5 separate regions of the Homo sapiens genome follow, and all the other regions are linked to region 2. Evidence: promoter capture Hi-C in 16 types of primary human blood cells and fetal thymus (Javierre and others, 2016). All regions are on one chromosome and are shown on one strand. Each heading gives the region's core, a stretch centred on a gene start or on the middle of the fragment in contact. The rest is flanking DNA. Distances are from core to core; before and after follow the strand shown. Region 1 overlaps SIK3 (SIK family kinase 3). Region 2 holds the start of APOA5 (apolipoprotein A5). Region 3 overlaps SIK3 (SIK family kinase 3). Region 4 overlaps SIK3 (SIK family kinase 3). Region 5 overlaps SIK3 (SIK family kinase 3).

Region 1 (2,855 bases), core at 304-2,803, 210 kb after region 2:
TTTCACTAAGGTCCATCTGGGCAATAGCTCCTCATTCTACACAATAAGCCTGCATCTTAGTCCATTACAAGAAAAAAAAACCACATTCTGGAAAAAGAAAAAAACATTTCACAATATTGGCTTCATAATAAATACATTTTAACTTAAAACAGTATGAAGTAGAATTTTTAATATAATAAAATGCTTGTCACTAGCAGTTCTTTTATAGAGAACATGTAGGAGGAAGGCTTGTCATCTGACAATATCTACCAGGTTAGCATTATGCAAGTATCTGAATTAATAAGCAGAAAGTAACAGTTACTGTCACCAAAAAGTCTGTATCCCTAAGTGAACTCTACTGTGAAATGAGGTGGAAGTTGTGTTTTTCCTGTTCTAAAATCCAACATGCTCACATTCCTTACAGGTAGCCAGTACTGATGAAGTCCGGATTTGCCAGCAATGAAAAGCAGTCAGTGTTCTGCCTTAAGCATACACGCCGTGTCAAGTAAATGCTGCCTTTGTAGTTGCCAGAGCAATAGCCACCACCAATAACAACAAAAATGAGGTAGCTGAGAGAGAACAGTGTGCCTACCACAGTAACATCTCGTTTCCTATGATACTGATTTTTGCTACATTAAGTCTCTTGCAACGAATGATAAGAAATTCACATTGACTTTATCAGATCTACACTACTCAGAATCTGACCGGGTTTACATAGAATTGACCAAGCTGCATGTGCCCAACTCTCACATACTTCTGTTCAAGAAGCCTTTAGTAAATAAGAACATAAAAGAAAAGCTTGACTCAGGCAGATCTGGTTTGGAATTCAAGCTCCAACACACTGGTTTTGCACTTTGGGCAATTTGCTTAACATCTTAAAGCACAATTTTTCTAGTATAAAATGAGGGTAATAAAAGTATGACCTGAAAGTACCTCATAAGGTTGTTCTCAGGATGAAATAAAAAAAAAAATATATTCAATGCTGGCTGGGAGCAGTGGCTCATGCCTGTAATCCTAGCACTTTGACGGGGCGGAGGCAGAAGGATCACTTGAGGCCAGGAGTTCAACACAAGGTAGGCAACAAAGCGAGACCCCAACTCTATTTATTAAATATATATATTTATTCAATGCCATGCCAGGCACACAGTAAGCACTATATAAACATAAGCATACGTTGTTGTTATGGTATTTCATTTTGCTGGTGTAGCTATTCTACTTGCTTTAGGTAGGGTCAACATCACAGAGGGTCATAAATTCCACACACAAAAAAGAAACAATTCAAGCTGAGAATTTAAAGTCGGAGCAACCTATTTATTGACAGACTACAGATGAGGAGTATAGATTGGTCCCCATTGCTGAACATTATACTTTAACGAGAAATGTTAAAACAAACAAACAAAAAACTCTGATTATCCATGTGCTACTGCTGCCTTCGTCTGAGCATCTATCTACAAAAATTATGGAGAATATGGGGAAAAAAGCTAAGAAATTAAAGTATTTATTAAGTAACAGAATGCCACCATAAGATTCACATATATTAAAAATCCTCTCCAAATATCATCTGATCATCCACTGATTAGAAACAAAGTTGACAGAATGCAACCCTGAATTTAACTTGTCTGAACTAAGACAGGACTGATCCTTAAGCACTGACAGGCAAGTTCAATGAATCTACCTTTAGGACCATAGGTTGATAAAGGTAACTAAAGGCAGGGAGCAGTGGCTCACACCTGTAATCCCAGCATGTTGCGAGGCCGAGGTGGGCAGATCGCTTGAGCCCAGGAGTTTGAGACCAGCCTGGGCAACATGGTGAAACCCCATCTCTACAAAAAATACAAAAAATTAGCCAGGCGTGATGGTGCACACCTGTGGTCCCAGCTACTCAGGAGGATGAGGTGGGAGGATTGCTTGAGCCCAGAAGGTCGAGGCTGCAGTAAGCCAAGATTGTGCCACTGCACTCCAGCCTGGGTGACAAAGTGAGACCCTGTCTCCAAAACAAAAAAAAAGAACAACGTTATTTAGACTATCCAAACAGGGACCCTGAAAATACTTGGGTAAGTGCATTTTGCTAATCAATTCTGACAAAAGATAATGGGGTGGAGGAAATAACATAGAGGCACTATTATTAAGACCTGACTCATTACTTTCCTTCAAATCTTACAAGGGAACAACCACAGAGTCACAGGAATACTTCTTCCCACCTGTCAATAACTTTACTCCAACCAACTCTTGTAAGATTCCTACCTCTTCTCCTCATCCCACCTTTGGCCAACTCTAGTCCAATTCCTGCTGGGCAATAAGAAAGGAAACAAGGTTAAAGCCTATGGGAAAACAAAGAGGTCCCAAAACCAAAGCTTTCTAATTAAAGCTTAATGTCGCATGATGTGAGCAATGAAAGGCATGTTAGATAAATCTAGTACGGCTACCTCAATTTAATTGGGAAGGAAATGGTAAATGTTGCCTAGTCTCATACAGCTAGTTAAGGGCACAGCCAGGCAGGATTAGAACTTAAAACCCCTATCTCCTAATCCAGTGTTTTTCCTACTATATCATTGAGATCAGTTTTTAAAAGACTGTATCAATGAACTCTTCTCCTTTTTTACTATATAATACTCAGAATATAAAAACAAAATGTGGGCTGGGCATGGTGGCTCACACCTGTAATCCCAGCACTTTGGGAGGCTGAGGCGGGCAGATCACCTGAGGTCAGGAGTTCGAGACCAGCCTGGCCAACCCAGGAGGTGAAGGCTGCAGTGAGCCGAGATCGCACCACTGCACTCTAGCCTGGTGACAGAGCGAGACCCCGTCTCAGAAAAAAAAAAAAAAAAAAAAAAAAAGATAAAAAAGATCTTCACAAACATTTTTAAATGGTAAAA
Region 2 (2,818 bases), core at 173-2,672:
TGAGCTCTTCGCGCAGCTGGTCCAGGTTCTGCTGGATGCGTGCGTGCAGGGCCTTGGCCTTGAGCGTGAGCTTCCGGGAGAGCACCTGCACGCAGCGACTGAGGCGCGCGGGGCTGGCGGGGGCGTGCGGAGCCACACTGCGGTGCAGCTCCTGCACGTGGCGCCCGATGCCGCTCACCAGGCTCTCGGCGTATGGGTGGAAGAGCTCTTTGAAGCGGCCGGTGTGGTGCACCACGCGGCTCTGCAGTCCCTGCAGCAAAGCCCAAGCCTCGTCCACGCCCCCCAGCAACTGGGCCTTGGTGTCTTCCCCCACCACGCGCAACTGCTCCTGCAGCTCCTGCACGCGCAGGGCCACCTGCTCCATCAGATCCATCGTGTAGGGCTTCAGTTGCTGCCGCAAGCCCTCCAAATTCCAGCCCACCAGCTCGTGCGCCTCTGCCATGTAGGGCTGGAGGCGAGCCTTCACCTCCTCCAACTCCTCCTGCAGCTGCCGCCGCATGCCCACCGGGTCCTGTGGGAGCCGAGGAGCCTCGCTCCCACTCAGAGGCCTCAGCTTTTCCAGGAACTTGTTCATATTGTTGAGGTCTTGCTCAAGGCTGTCTTTCAGGGTCCTGGAGAAGGGGACAGATATCCAGGCCGTCAGACTGCTAGCCTCCATCATCTCCTTTGTCCCCAAGTCATCGCGCACTGATCCTCTGGGGGAACCAAGGACGCAGGGCGTTGGCCCCAGGGTCGAGGGCTCTTGTCCTAGCCCTGGCCAGTAACAACTCACGCACGAAGCACAAACACATTGCCCATACAAATCCAGACCTACAACACTCTCCAAAGAAACATAGATGCGCCACATCATCCTTTGATTCTGGGGACTGCAGCGGGCGTCCTCCCGATTGATCCCAGGTCCCGCGCCTCAGTGAGCAAGGGGGCAACAGCTACGGAGTTGTCAAGGCGGGGGCTGCAGGCAGAGGGCGCTAAAGAGCCCAGGATGGCCGGGATCTGCAGACAGAGCTAGCACCGCTCCTTTCCTCTGTCCCAGCAGCGGCCACAGAGGTTGAGGCAGCAGAGGCAGGTCATCATGGCATGGCCCAGCTGTCTCCTCCCTTCGCCTACACCCCTTCCCCTGGGCACTCACGCGGGCTCGCGAGCCATCTTCTGCTGATGGATCTGCTCCACCCTGCCTTTGTCCCCGCTGGTCTGGCTGAAGTAGTCCCAGAAGCCTTTCCGTGCCTGGGTGGCCGAAAACGCTGTGGAGAGGGACTAGGTAATCAGGGCCTGGGCTCTCCTCCCCCAGGGTGGACAGGGCCCTCTGGCCAGCCTCCACCCACACCCCCACGTTGAAGTCAGGGTCGGAGACCCACCTGAAAGAAGAGCCAGAGCCCAGGTGAGCACGGCAGCCATGCTTGCCATTACCTGCTCTGAGAAGACAGGTGGAGGGAGGCCTGGTTAGGGGAAGAAGGAGACGAAGGGACATGGCGCAGGGGACTTGCCCAGGGGGCCTCTGCAGGGGCAACTGCCCGAAATCCTGTTACCCCTTCCTTGGGCTGGGGAGCACAGAGCTGTTGGGGCTCAAGAGGACTGACCTAGGTGAGTCAAGGAGGCTAGGGTGTCTTCCTCAGACATGGGAAGAGGGCGTGCTCTTGCTACCTCAGTCACATAGCAGGGAGCGTGGTGCTCTAACCCCTTCGCAAAGGTCCCAGACCCCAGGAACAGTTCTCTAGGCCACTTCTACCACCTCTCCCCTGCCCACCTGTCTCCCTCCCTCCCATTTCATGGTGGAAAAACTGAGCCATAATGAGGGCGAAGAGGCAACTCTGCCAAAATGTTCCAAGAGGACGTCTTAGGGGCCACCCCAGGCTCTCCCCTGAGGCCACCTGCAATGCCCTCCCTTAGGACTGTGACCCCCATCCCTCTGCCCCAGCTGCTCACCTGCTCACGTCTGGGCACAGAGAGCAGACATTCTGCTTTATACTCCAGGGCCCTGAGCCTCTGGCACCAATTGCTCTGAGTAAATACCACGTGGAAGTTCAAAAGAAGTTGACCTCAGCTGCCTCCCAGCACTCACCTCCTGCCCTTTCCCTGGCACCCAGAGGGTTAATGAGTGCCCTGGTATCAGGGGCTGCCCCAGTAGAGAAGTGCTTCCCAGGAGCTTTACGGGGGATGGGGCTGAACTCCTCACCCAGTTTCTCCCAAACCCCATGACCTTTAACCTTCCCACTGACCTGCTGGCTGGCCCACCAACAGAGAAGAACCTGTTTGTCTGCCAAGGGCCCCTCTCTTACACAACTACCCAGAGTCACTGTGTCCCAGCCGGCAAGATGGACAGTGTTCACCTACCAGCCAGAACCCGAGCAGCCCCTGAAAGCTTCACTACAGGTTCCGCAGGCATCCTCAGCCAGCATTCATAGGGTTAAAGACCAACCACATCCCTCTTTATGAAACAATCCTGGAACAAGCAAGGGAAGCCAGGCAGGGTGAAGATGAGATGGCAAGAGGCATCTGGGCCAGGGACTCTGAGCCCCAGGAACTGGAGCGAAAGTGAGATTTGCCCCATGAGGAAAAGCTGAACTCCACTCGCAGGGCCTCTGAGGAGAGCAAGCCCAAATGCTCAGATCTTCTCTGATGACACACCCACTCCGTCTACAGTACTCATACACACGTTCACAAGCTCCCGATTCTTGGTCCTAAATGCATCTTGAATCAATCCCCTCTCCTCCATTTCCACTACCATCATTGCACCAGTTGTCTGTCACCTTGATTGCATTCATAGCCTCCAACAGGTCTTTCTACCACACTCCTGCCCATTTAATTCATCCTCCACTGT
Region 3 (3,219 bases), core at 706-3,205, 240 kb after region 2:
AAAATATCTTACCATAAATATTAATAAAAGAAGCATTCATATATAAAATATAGATATTTCAAACCCTACAGAGGGCCTTTTAATGATTAAATATTTTGTCCTTACAAAAAGGTCCAGGTAATTACACCCATGAGGTTAACCTGCCTTAGTGCAGGACTTAAAATAAGGCTTCTCCTGCCATCTCTCTCCATTTGTAGAATGTGAAATTCTTTAAAATGCATCCTATATTAGGAATACTATAGCTGTGCACTGGTGTTTGTTCTCTTCTTTAAACTCGGGACCGTATATATCTGCTCAAATTGCCCAAGTATACATATGCTGCACTCCATCAAGTGTCAGGCCACATTCTATCAGCACAGCGTGACTGCCTATCAGTGACAATATAAGTGAGCTCTATTTGGATCCCTCTTACCCTACCTTTTATATTTATGACAGCATTATCATAAAACTCCAATATTCTTCAATAACTTACATGTTTGTTGTAGGATAAAATTATTACCCTCAATGAACTACATAAAAATATAGAAAAAATAGCTGGGTGCAGTGGCTCACACCTGTAATTCCAGCACTTTGGGAGGCCAAGGCAGGTGGATCACGAGGTCAAGAGATCAAGACCATCCTGGCTAACTCAGTGAAACCTCGTCTCTACTAAAAATACAAAACAAAAAAAAATTAGCCAGGCGTCGTGGTGGGCGCCTGTAGTCTCAGCTACTCAGGAGGCTGAGGCAGGAGAATGGTGTGAAGCCAGGAGGCGGAGCTTGCAGTGAGCAGAGATTGCGCCACTGCACTCCAGTCTGGGGGGAAAGAGCGAGACTCCGTCTAAAAAAAAAAAAAAAAGAAAGAAAAGAAAAGAAAAAAAAAGAAAAGGAAAAGAAAAGAAAACATTTTCAGATTTGAAGAAAAAAATCTGATAATGGATATAAGAAGATTGATCAGGCTCAAGGCAAATTATTAATTAGTATTAGAAACCAACACCAACTGGTTCTTCAACCATTATCAAACACATTGATAACAGTATATGAAATGAAGGAATCTCACATAAATAATGTAATAGCCATTTGTCACTGGAGGTCACCTTTTATGACAAGAAAAATAATCCCACGTTCTTCATATGTTTAATGAAGTTAAGTTTTATAAAACAGATTTATAATCGCTGCCATGTATCATTCTGGGGGAGAAAAAAACAGTAAGCACAAAAAGAAAGCCTAAGATTATGGACAGAAAAAAAATTCAAAGAAAACTTAAATCTAACAACAAAAATACCATAGCACTGTATAAGTTATCACATAGAACATGAAGAACTAGTATACATTCCAGAGGAAAAGCTTGTTAAATCCTACACTGCTAACACTATAACTATATTGAATAAACATACTGCCCCTTAAATATAATTAGCACCATTATTTGAAAACAGAGACAAGAGAAAAGCATCTATAAGACTTGAATGATAAAAGCTGAAATTATGTGAAATCCTTATACTTCAGGCAAGGACATGAATGCTAAAGATCTCAAATTTTCTCAGTGACATGCAAGTAAATGAAAGTAAAGATACGGTTTATTTGTAAAACACGATGCACAATTGAAGGGAGAAATTAAGTATTTAGATCACTTTTTAGCATGCCCTCAAGTAAGTCGGCCAAAACATAATGAGATCAGTACTGGTGGTTAAGAAAAGAGTAACACCAAAAACTTCAGAAAAAGTGGGTCTTATAAAGGCTGTTTCCTAAATGTAGTAATGTATAAGTAATCATGCCATGCTCCACAGACAAGCAAGAGATGTTAAGAAGATGCCAGCACGATTCCAATTATCAATTGTATTAAGGCATGGTCTTTACATTTCAAACTTTACAGAGTTACCTGGAATTATACAGTAAGTTCCAGAATCTCCTCTTTCATTTGTGAATCTGTTCGCTACCCAAAGGCAAGTTCTATTATAAATAGTCAATTAAGATCCAAAAAAACCAAACTTATTTTTTGCTTTTGGTTAACAAGAAATTCCTTTAGCTTAATTGTAACATGGCTACAGCAATCAGTGTACCTTGCTAATATTTTTAATAACTTTGTAACATAAGGTTGTGATGTTACCATGTTTTACAACTGCAAATAATGCAATGATAAAACTGAAAGTTTTGAACTGAACTTTTTTATCTGAGTAATATTTTATTGTATGAATATACCACCATTTATTTATCTCTTGGTTGTTTCCAGTTCTGGGCTATAATCCAAAATGCTTTTTTCAAACAATAGGCTATATATCATTAATGTCCATTTATCAGCAGTATAAAATATCTTACCATAAATATTAATAAAAGAAGCAGTATAAACAAAATCTGTTTATTTTAAAACTGAGTGAATAAAAGGCAGAGATAGGCAATGAGGAAATGAGGAATTTTTTAATGATGCAGATAATATGTTCTAAAATATAATGAAGACCTAAATTAGCTGAGAAATGTGTTCAACAATCACTCCAAACTAAGTATGAATTAATGATTCTATCAATTCATTAATTCTATTAAATCTATTAATGATTCTATTAAACATTAATGATTCTATTTGCAAATTAAAACTTCCTGCTATTCCATTTTAAAGCTTTGGCTATCCCCCATCTGTGATTTTTGTACTGGTTATTTTAACTCAATGTCTGTCAGTTCTTTTCATTTGTAAAATGCAGATAAAAGTAACTACCTACATTATAGGGCTATTGTCACCCAGGCTGGAATGCAGTGATGTGATCATAGCTCACTGTAACCTTGAGCTCCTAGGCTCAAGCGATCCTCCCACCTTAGCCTCCAGAGTAGCTGGGACTACAGGTGCATGCCACCATGCCCGGCTAATTGTTTTAATTTTTTTTTTTAATCCAAAATGTGTTTATTGAGATGGTTTCCCACTCATCTTGATTCAGAGTGCTTTTAGTGCTGCTTCCTCCTGAAGGAACATCCTTCTGTAAGCCTTGCTTTTCCTCCTGTAGGCTGGCAGAGGACAGTGGAGCAGCCAACACACAAAACTACCGTTTGTGCATGGCTAAAGACCGTGATGATTTTATAGCATCCTGGGCATTTCACATCCATGAAGCAGGAATTGGGGCTCTGCACCAGGCGTTTCTTCTTGTGTTTCCTCTTCTCCTTTTCTGGAGAGGGATGAAGGAGACCCTTTGCAAGAGGCATGTTCTCGTGTGGGTAGGTCATCACCGCCGGAAAGGTTAATTTTTTTTTTTTATAG
Region 4 (3,047 bases), core at 382-2,881, 140 kb after region 2:
ACCAACAACACATATAGGTCATGACAGCTAGTGGGATTAGAAATGTCAGCTATGATACAGTTGTTCTGTTAGAAATGTCTAATAGTCTCATGAGCACTGTCCTTTAATCAACTGATCTAGCTGGGAAAAGGACATATTTGCCATCCTAAGCATCCTGAGACAGTAGGAAAGTGAAAAATGAGGGAATATAGATAAATATATTGTGATTTATCAACAGTTTTGGTAGAATACACAATTGTTTTGGTGACATCTCACTCCCTCACAGGACCAGTCAGGTGTATCTTTCCTTCACCACAAAGAGGAAGTTCAGGGTAGCACATATTTACTAGCAATAACTGCCAAGACTGAGCGCTTGTGGCAAGAAATGGTAGGGGAGAAGGTTGAAGAAGGGGAGTTAGATGCCAGCCCATCTACAGAGCAGATTGCAAAATAATTCAAACTGCATTCTGACCACAAGAAATATAACATTCTGGAATGCAAATACTGTAGTCACTTTAAGAACATATCTTATATGTAGATAATATAAATCATTAAGAAAGATCCTCAAAGGAATTATTGTAATTTTTGTTCGCCACACACAAGGCTTTTGAAGCATCTCCCTCAAAAATACAAGTCATTGTTATAGCCAAGATTATCGATTTAATAGAAGAAAAAGGAGAAAATAAGAAGTCTTCCACTTAGCAGTTAAAAGGACTAGAATCAAGCTTTCCCTGGGAGGTCAGAGGTGGGGATAAGTAAGCTCCCACTCGGGTGTGTTTAGGCTTCCGGTGAGGTCTGCTATGAACTTTAAACAACACGAAGTCCAAACTAGGGAGAGTAACTTAACAGAAGCTGTGAAAGAACTGGCCATCCATCAGAGGTAGAATGCTATGTTTTAAGAGGCCATTTTCTAACAGTACCTGCTCCTCTGACCCCCTATTTCTCTTAACCCAAGGCCTAATTATTCTAATAATATGTTTTAGTTGCTAAACCTTGTCTAATTAAAGAGCTTTGAAGAGACAGCTATTCTTGAGAAACATAAAAATAAACCCTTATGAAGGTTTACCATCAGAAGCTCATTTGGCCAAGCTACCCATTAATTAAAATGCCCAAGAGACATTTGTCTGGCAGTAAATACTAATTACCAGAACACATCAAAGTGCTTCTTAAATGCTGCAGAATGATTAATTTCACAATTTCCAAAATAAGTGATTTCTTTTATTAAGAAAGTCTTTATAAATTTCTAAGTACCTTGTTTTCCTAAAGTGATTGGAAAGTTCTCAAAACTGTTATACGGGCCAGAAGCTGCTGGAATGCAGCCTAGTTCTGTTTTATCTCTACAGTGACACATCAGTTGTCCCTGGACAAATCATTTATCCTGCCAATACCCCCACCTCTTGATCTTCTAAATACAAGTAAACTCTGTTGCATGCTATACCCAAAGAAAGAACAGAATATTTGGGAATAAACGTGTACTCTGATTAAGAGTATCATACGTTAAAACTTTCACTTTCAAAGATGTTGCAAAAGACATTTTTGAAAAGGTCCACTGAATACTATATAGGGAATACTTAAACATCTAGTCAATAGAGCACAAAGTCCTTCAGGATTCTGCAGAGCTTAAAGGTGATTTTCTACACATCGATTGTCACTGTTAATGGTTCTGGTTAAAAGGTAGCTGTAACAGCGCACTGGGTAGTACAGCTTAAACTATAATACTTTCCCCAAAGTTACCTTCAGTACCCCTATAGTTATAGATACAAAGAAGATAAACAAATCACTTTTTTTTTTCCCCTGGACTCTAAATACACTTACGGAACAAATCACTTTTTTTTTTTAAAGTGTTCACATTAGATATTTGCTCCTAGCCATTGTGTTTAGGGTTCAAGTTTTCTTCTCTTTGGGAGCACTGTGCTCTTCACATGCAAGCTCCTTCCAGTGGCTCAATCGCATTCAGACCTCAGCCTCTGCCCTGATTTTTGCCCATCTTATCCCCCCAACCCCTACTCCCATTGGTTTGCTTTCACTGTAAACCTACGAGGTCTAGTGGGTGTGCCAGGAAGCCAGCAGCCTGCAGTGGTTTTCACTCCCTGCTGAAAATCGCCTTTCAGCTGCCTGCTGACAAATAGCTGCTTTATATTCGTATATGCTCTAGAGGCAGGCAGCAAACATTCTTCAAGTTCAAATGTGATATTTAACTTTCAGTGAAGAAATCCAGAGCTGTAGACCAGCCTGGACTTAACACATAGTCACAGCATTTTTACAAATACTGCAGTACTTTCAGAAGGCAAATGAAACCAAATGGCTCCTGAATCCACTCAATACGCAAAGTAAAATGTACGTTGAACCTTGTCAGGATAAACTCCAATTGCAAGGAACTCCAGAGTTGTTCTGCTTCTTCCAGGCAATTCAGTGAACTACCTCTCCTAAATACTGAGACACAAATACTACCCATATCCTCATCCCAATCATCCACACTGCAGCCATGCCCCTAGCTAGAGTCCTGCCCCCTCCCCACCCCCACCAATCTAAACAAACCTCAAGTAGACACCTGCTGCATAAAGTCAAGTCCATCACACTAAGCTTTTTTCACCATCAATCAACTACTTATCTATTTAGTTGCCATTATAGGTCTGGGACAAATTTAAAGTTTTCTTTGACCACAATTTCACTCCAAACATGTACCCAGACAGGGATGAGGTGACTCTCGGTTAAAAGGAAAAAAAATGGTTCTCCTGTTTCAAGTGCTTTTCAAAAGTAAAAAGTAAAACAAAGTAAAAAAAAGTAAAAAGTACTTTTAAATTCTCTTTCTCACTTTCCCATGACCATGACTTGGCATTGGTCTTCTTTAATCTTTTTGGTCTGCCCTTCCTTGCAAAATGAAAAGAAGTAAGTGACACTAAGAGATTTACATACCCGACGAAGAGTAATATTGTTAGAAGTACAGGAAATCGATTTTGAATTTTCTAAAGTATTAGAGCACCAGCACGTAAGTTTGCTTCAGAATTCACTGTTTGTAATTTTGTCCCAATCTTACTCAGGAAGAAAATATCTTGTGGTACATTTAG
Region 5 (2,835 bases), core at 94-2,593, 170 kb after region 2:
CAATATTCTGGGTTCTTTGCAGCTATCTGCTATACACTAATGATCCTACCTGGTAGAGCCTGATGATATGGGGGTGGCAAAGCATCTTCATAATTTGAACTTCCCGGAAAATCTTCTTCAAGTTTTCTTCATCCAGCTGGGTCTTATCTATGATCTTGATAGCAACCTGACAACAGAGGGAAAAAAATTACTCTGATGCATTATTAAAAGCAGTTTACTAAGAAAAATTAGGTTCACTTTAAAACATTACGTTCCATAAAATATAAGCTGCCAGTATTCTGTTTACAGAATGTCAATGAGGAAAATTAATTTACTCTTTTTAAAAAGATAGGAAATGGATTCCTAGCAAGTTGGTCTCAAAGGAACAGACTCCAAAAGCTAATGGGTCTTCTGCCATTTCTTCAATTGCTTATACGGTAAAATCCTATGAAAAAATACTTTATTACTCCATAGATGTCGTTACGGTCTGGGTCAAATCATGTTTCAGTGCAGAGTGGTATACAGGGTCTCTCATTAAGACAAGAAGCTTTAAATAAAATAAAAAATTTTTAAAAAGGCAAGAAGCTTGTATCATAAATACATGGTGTCTTACTAAGGTTCTATGAGAACTTTCACAGGGGCTTTACACATCTCACCAGATGCTTGTAGAACTCAATAATAATAATAATAGTAGCAGTGATGGTGGTGGCAGCAGCAGTAGCAGCATCTACCATATACGAAATGTTTACTATGGGCCAGGCATAACTCTTAGTGGTTTGGAAGTACTAACTCATTTAAACCTCCTAACACCCACCTTATCATTAACCTTGCTTTAGAAATACAGAAACTGAGGCACACAGAGATTAAGTAATTAACCCAAGATTAAGTAATTTACACCTAGTATGTGGCAGGTGCAGGATTGAAGCCTAGGTAGCTTGGCTTTAGAATCAAATTCTTAATAAGAATGTTATAAGAATCTGAAGATCTTTCTTTAGCATACATGCACTGCATCATAAAACATATCTTTCCAATGTGCCCCCTTTTAATAAGATACTCATCAGCAAATACATTTTAATGAAGAATGAACGATGAAGGACTTTTAAAAATTTACTAAATCTAAACTTCCTCAGTGAAATACTTAAAATATTTGTGTTGCTCCAAAATATGTCTATATCTCAGTTTCAATTATGTAATCAGTATGGAAGCAATACTGGTTAGATGAAGAACCTAGACTAGTCAAACTCTAGTCCTCTCCAAATCTTAACATTCTAAGATTCTATGCACCAGAGAGGTAAAGGGAACATATACAGTACTTACTGAGGAAAAAATCAGGAAAACAAAATTACAAAAGTAAAAATGTTTAGCTCAGAGAAATAAAGACTGTTTGGAGCCATACGTGGCAGATTATTCAGATGTATAAATGGCTGGCATAAAAGTAACTTTATCTGAAGCTGTTTCAGGTGTTAAAATGAGGACCCACGGGAGAAAGGCACAGGGAGATAAATTTCAGCTGTACTCAAAGAGCATTCAAGCCATGCCTAACGAGGGAGTGTGATGAAAGGAGCTGGGTGTGGCTGGAGCTACAAGGATTAATCAGACACAGCCTAAACTTCAAGGAGATCACAGTCTAAAAAGGAAAAAAGATGTGTGGAACTGAAAACAATGCAGCATTGGAAGTACAAGCAATGGAGCTATGTACCAGGTATAACAACAGACAGAGGATGGTGAATGACCTTCACCTACAGGAGAAGAGGTAGAAAAAGTCTGGGAAAGACTTGACAAAGAAAGCAGAATTTCACTACAGAGAGAACTGGGATAGGCAGAGAAGAAGGTAGAGAATTTAATGAGGATCTCACCAGCTGCTTGGTTTCCTGTAAGAAGTCTTGGATAATATAACCCTTGACCACCTGCATTTCTACTTCTCCTCATTACTGCACCAGATCACATACAAGACCTTAACTCCACAACTGGTCTAGCATCTGCTCCTGCTTCTCTCAGGACAGCTCCCAAAACAACAACAAAAAAAATCATGGTACACAATGTCTCTTCCTAGAACAAATAGCTTGGTCTTAATAGTCATTATTAATAAAATCTTACATGTGAATGGCACCTTGTAATGTACAGAATGCTTTCATAAATATAACAAGCTTAGAAACTTGCAGATATATCCCCATAGCAGAGCTGCCAAACAGCTGTAATCCCAGCACTTTCGGAGGCCAAGGAGGGCAGACTGATTGAGTCCAGGAGTTCAAGACCAGCATGGGCAATATGGTGAAACCCCATCTCTACTAAAAAACTTTTTAAAAATTAGCCGAGCATGGTAGCATGTGTCTGTAGTCCCAGCTACTCAGGAGGCTGAGGTGGAAGGACAGTTTGATCCCGGGAGCTGAAGTTGCAGTGAGCTATGATCGTGCCAGCAACAGAATGAGACCCTGTCTCAAAAGAAAAAAAAAGAACTTCCAAACAAGTGTGTTGGAAATGGGTTACAAGCAATAATGGATCACCTCCAATCTCAACTTTCTGTGCATGCCATGATGTGCAAAAGGTGGGAAGAACTGCTAGGATTTATTTACCTTAATAACAGAGGGCATCAACTGTCTAAGGCCTGTGCCTGAAATCTTCCACCTCTGCCCACCCCCTACTAATTGATGGCATGTACAATGTAACTGGGGAAAAGCGGGTGACCTTCAGGTTAACTTATGAAATTTGTGCATTCTTTCACCTCCAAGAGATCACAGGGAGTCATATAGTGGGGCCTCCCTGATTCACAAGGCACTCACTCTAAATTTCATTTGCATTCTGAAGCAATAGGATCTTCATAATGGTAAACAGAGATTGTGTGGCTCCCAGTCAGCC

Evidence for each region. Contacts are between HindIII fragments. The CHiCAGO score rates a contact against its expected background, and 5 or more counts as called.
Region 1: a contact is called between a fragment that was not itself captured here and the fragment with the promoter of APOA5 in region 2, in 3 of 17 cell types (naive CD8 T cells, activated CD4 T cells and neutrophils). The highest score is 6.1, in naive CD8 T cells.
Region 3: a fragment that was not itself captured here is called in contact with the fragment with the promoter of APOA5 in region 2 in 8 of 17 cell types (naive CD8 T cells, total CD4 T cells, naive CD4 T cells and 5 more); the score reaches 7.9 in naive CD8 T cells.
Region 4: a fragment that was not itself captured here is called in contact with the fragment with the promoter of APOA5 in region 2 in 5 of 17 cell types (naive CD8 T cells, non-activated CD4 T cells, total CD8 T cells and 2 more); the score reaches 7.1 in naive CD8 T cells.
Region 5: a fragment that was not itself captured here is called in contact with the fragment with the promoter of APOA5 in region 2 in 1 of 17 cell types (total B cells); the score reaches 5.4 in total B cells.

Annotation. Positions count from the first base shown.
Region 1 is chr11:117,002,546-117,005,400 of GRCh38, forward strand. The region is part of intron 1 of SIK3 (SIK family kinase 3); the gene reads right to left. Among named protein-coding and RNA genes, the nearest start is that of SIK3, 94 kb to the right of the region's middle. The HindIII fragment of the contact is 1,556 bases long and covers 776-2,331 here.
Region 2 is chr11:116,790,457-116,793,274 of GRCh38, forward strand. It overlaps APOA5 (apolipoprotein A5), which reads right to left and starts at 1,423. Exons shown (of 3, transcript NM_001371904.1): 1 at 1,356-1,423; 2 at 1,130-1,241; 3 at 1-611. The coding sequence starts at 1,404. The HindIII fragment of the contact is 6,000 bases long and covers 1-2,357 here.
Region 3 is chr11:117,032,888-117,036,106 of GRCh38, forward strand. The region is part of intron 1 of SIK3 (SIK family kinase 3); the gene reads right to left. It also overlaps the pseudogene RPS27P19. Among named protein-coding and RNA genes, the nearest start is that of SIK3, 64 kb to the right of the region's middle. The HindIII fragment of the contact is 1,264 bases long and covers 1,324-2,587 here.
Region 4 is chr11:116,928,280-116,931,326 of GRCh38, forward strand. All of the region lies in intron 3 of SIK3 (SIK family kinase 3), which reads right to left. Among named protein-coding and RNA genes, the nearest start is that of APOA1, 92 kb to the left of the region's middle. The HindIII fragment of the contact is 1,858 bases long and covers 703-2,560 here.
Region 5 is chr11:116,956,899-116,959,733 of GRCh38, forward strand. It overlaps SIK3 (SIK family kinase 3), which reads right to left. Exons shown (of 25, transcript NM_001366686.3): 2 at 50-166. Among named protein-coding and RNA genes, the nearest start is that of APOA1, 120 kb to the left of the region's middle. The HindIII fragment of the contact is 1,562 bases long and covers 563-2,124 here.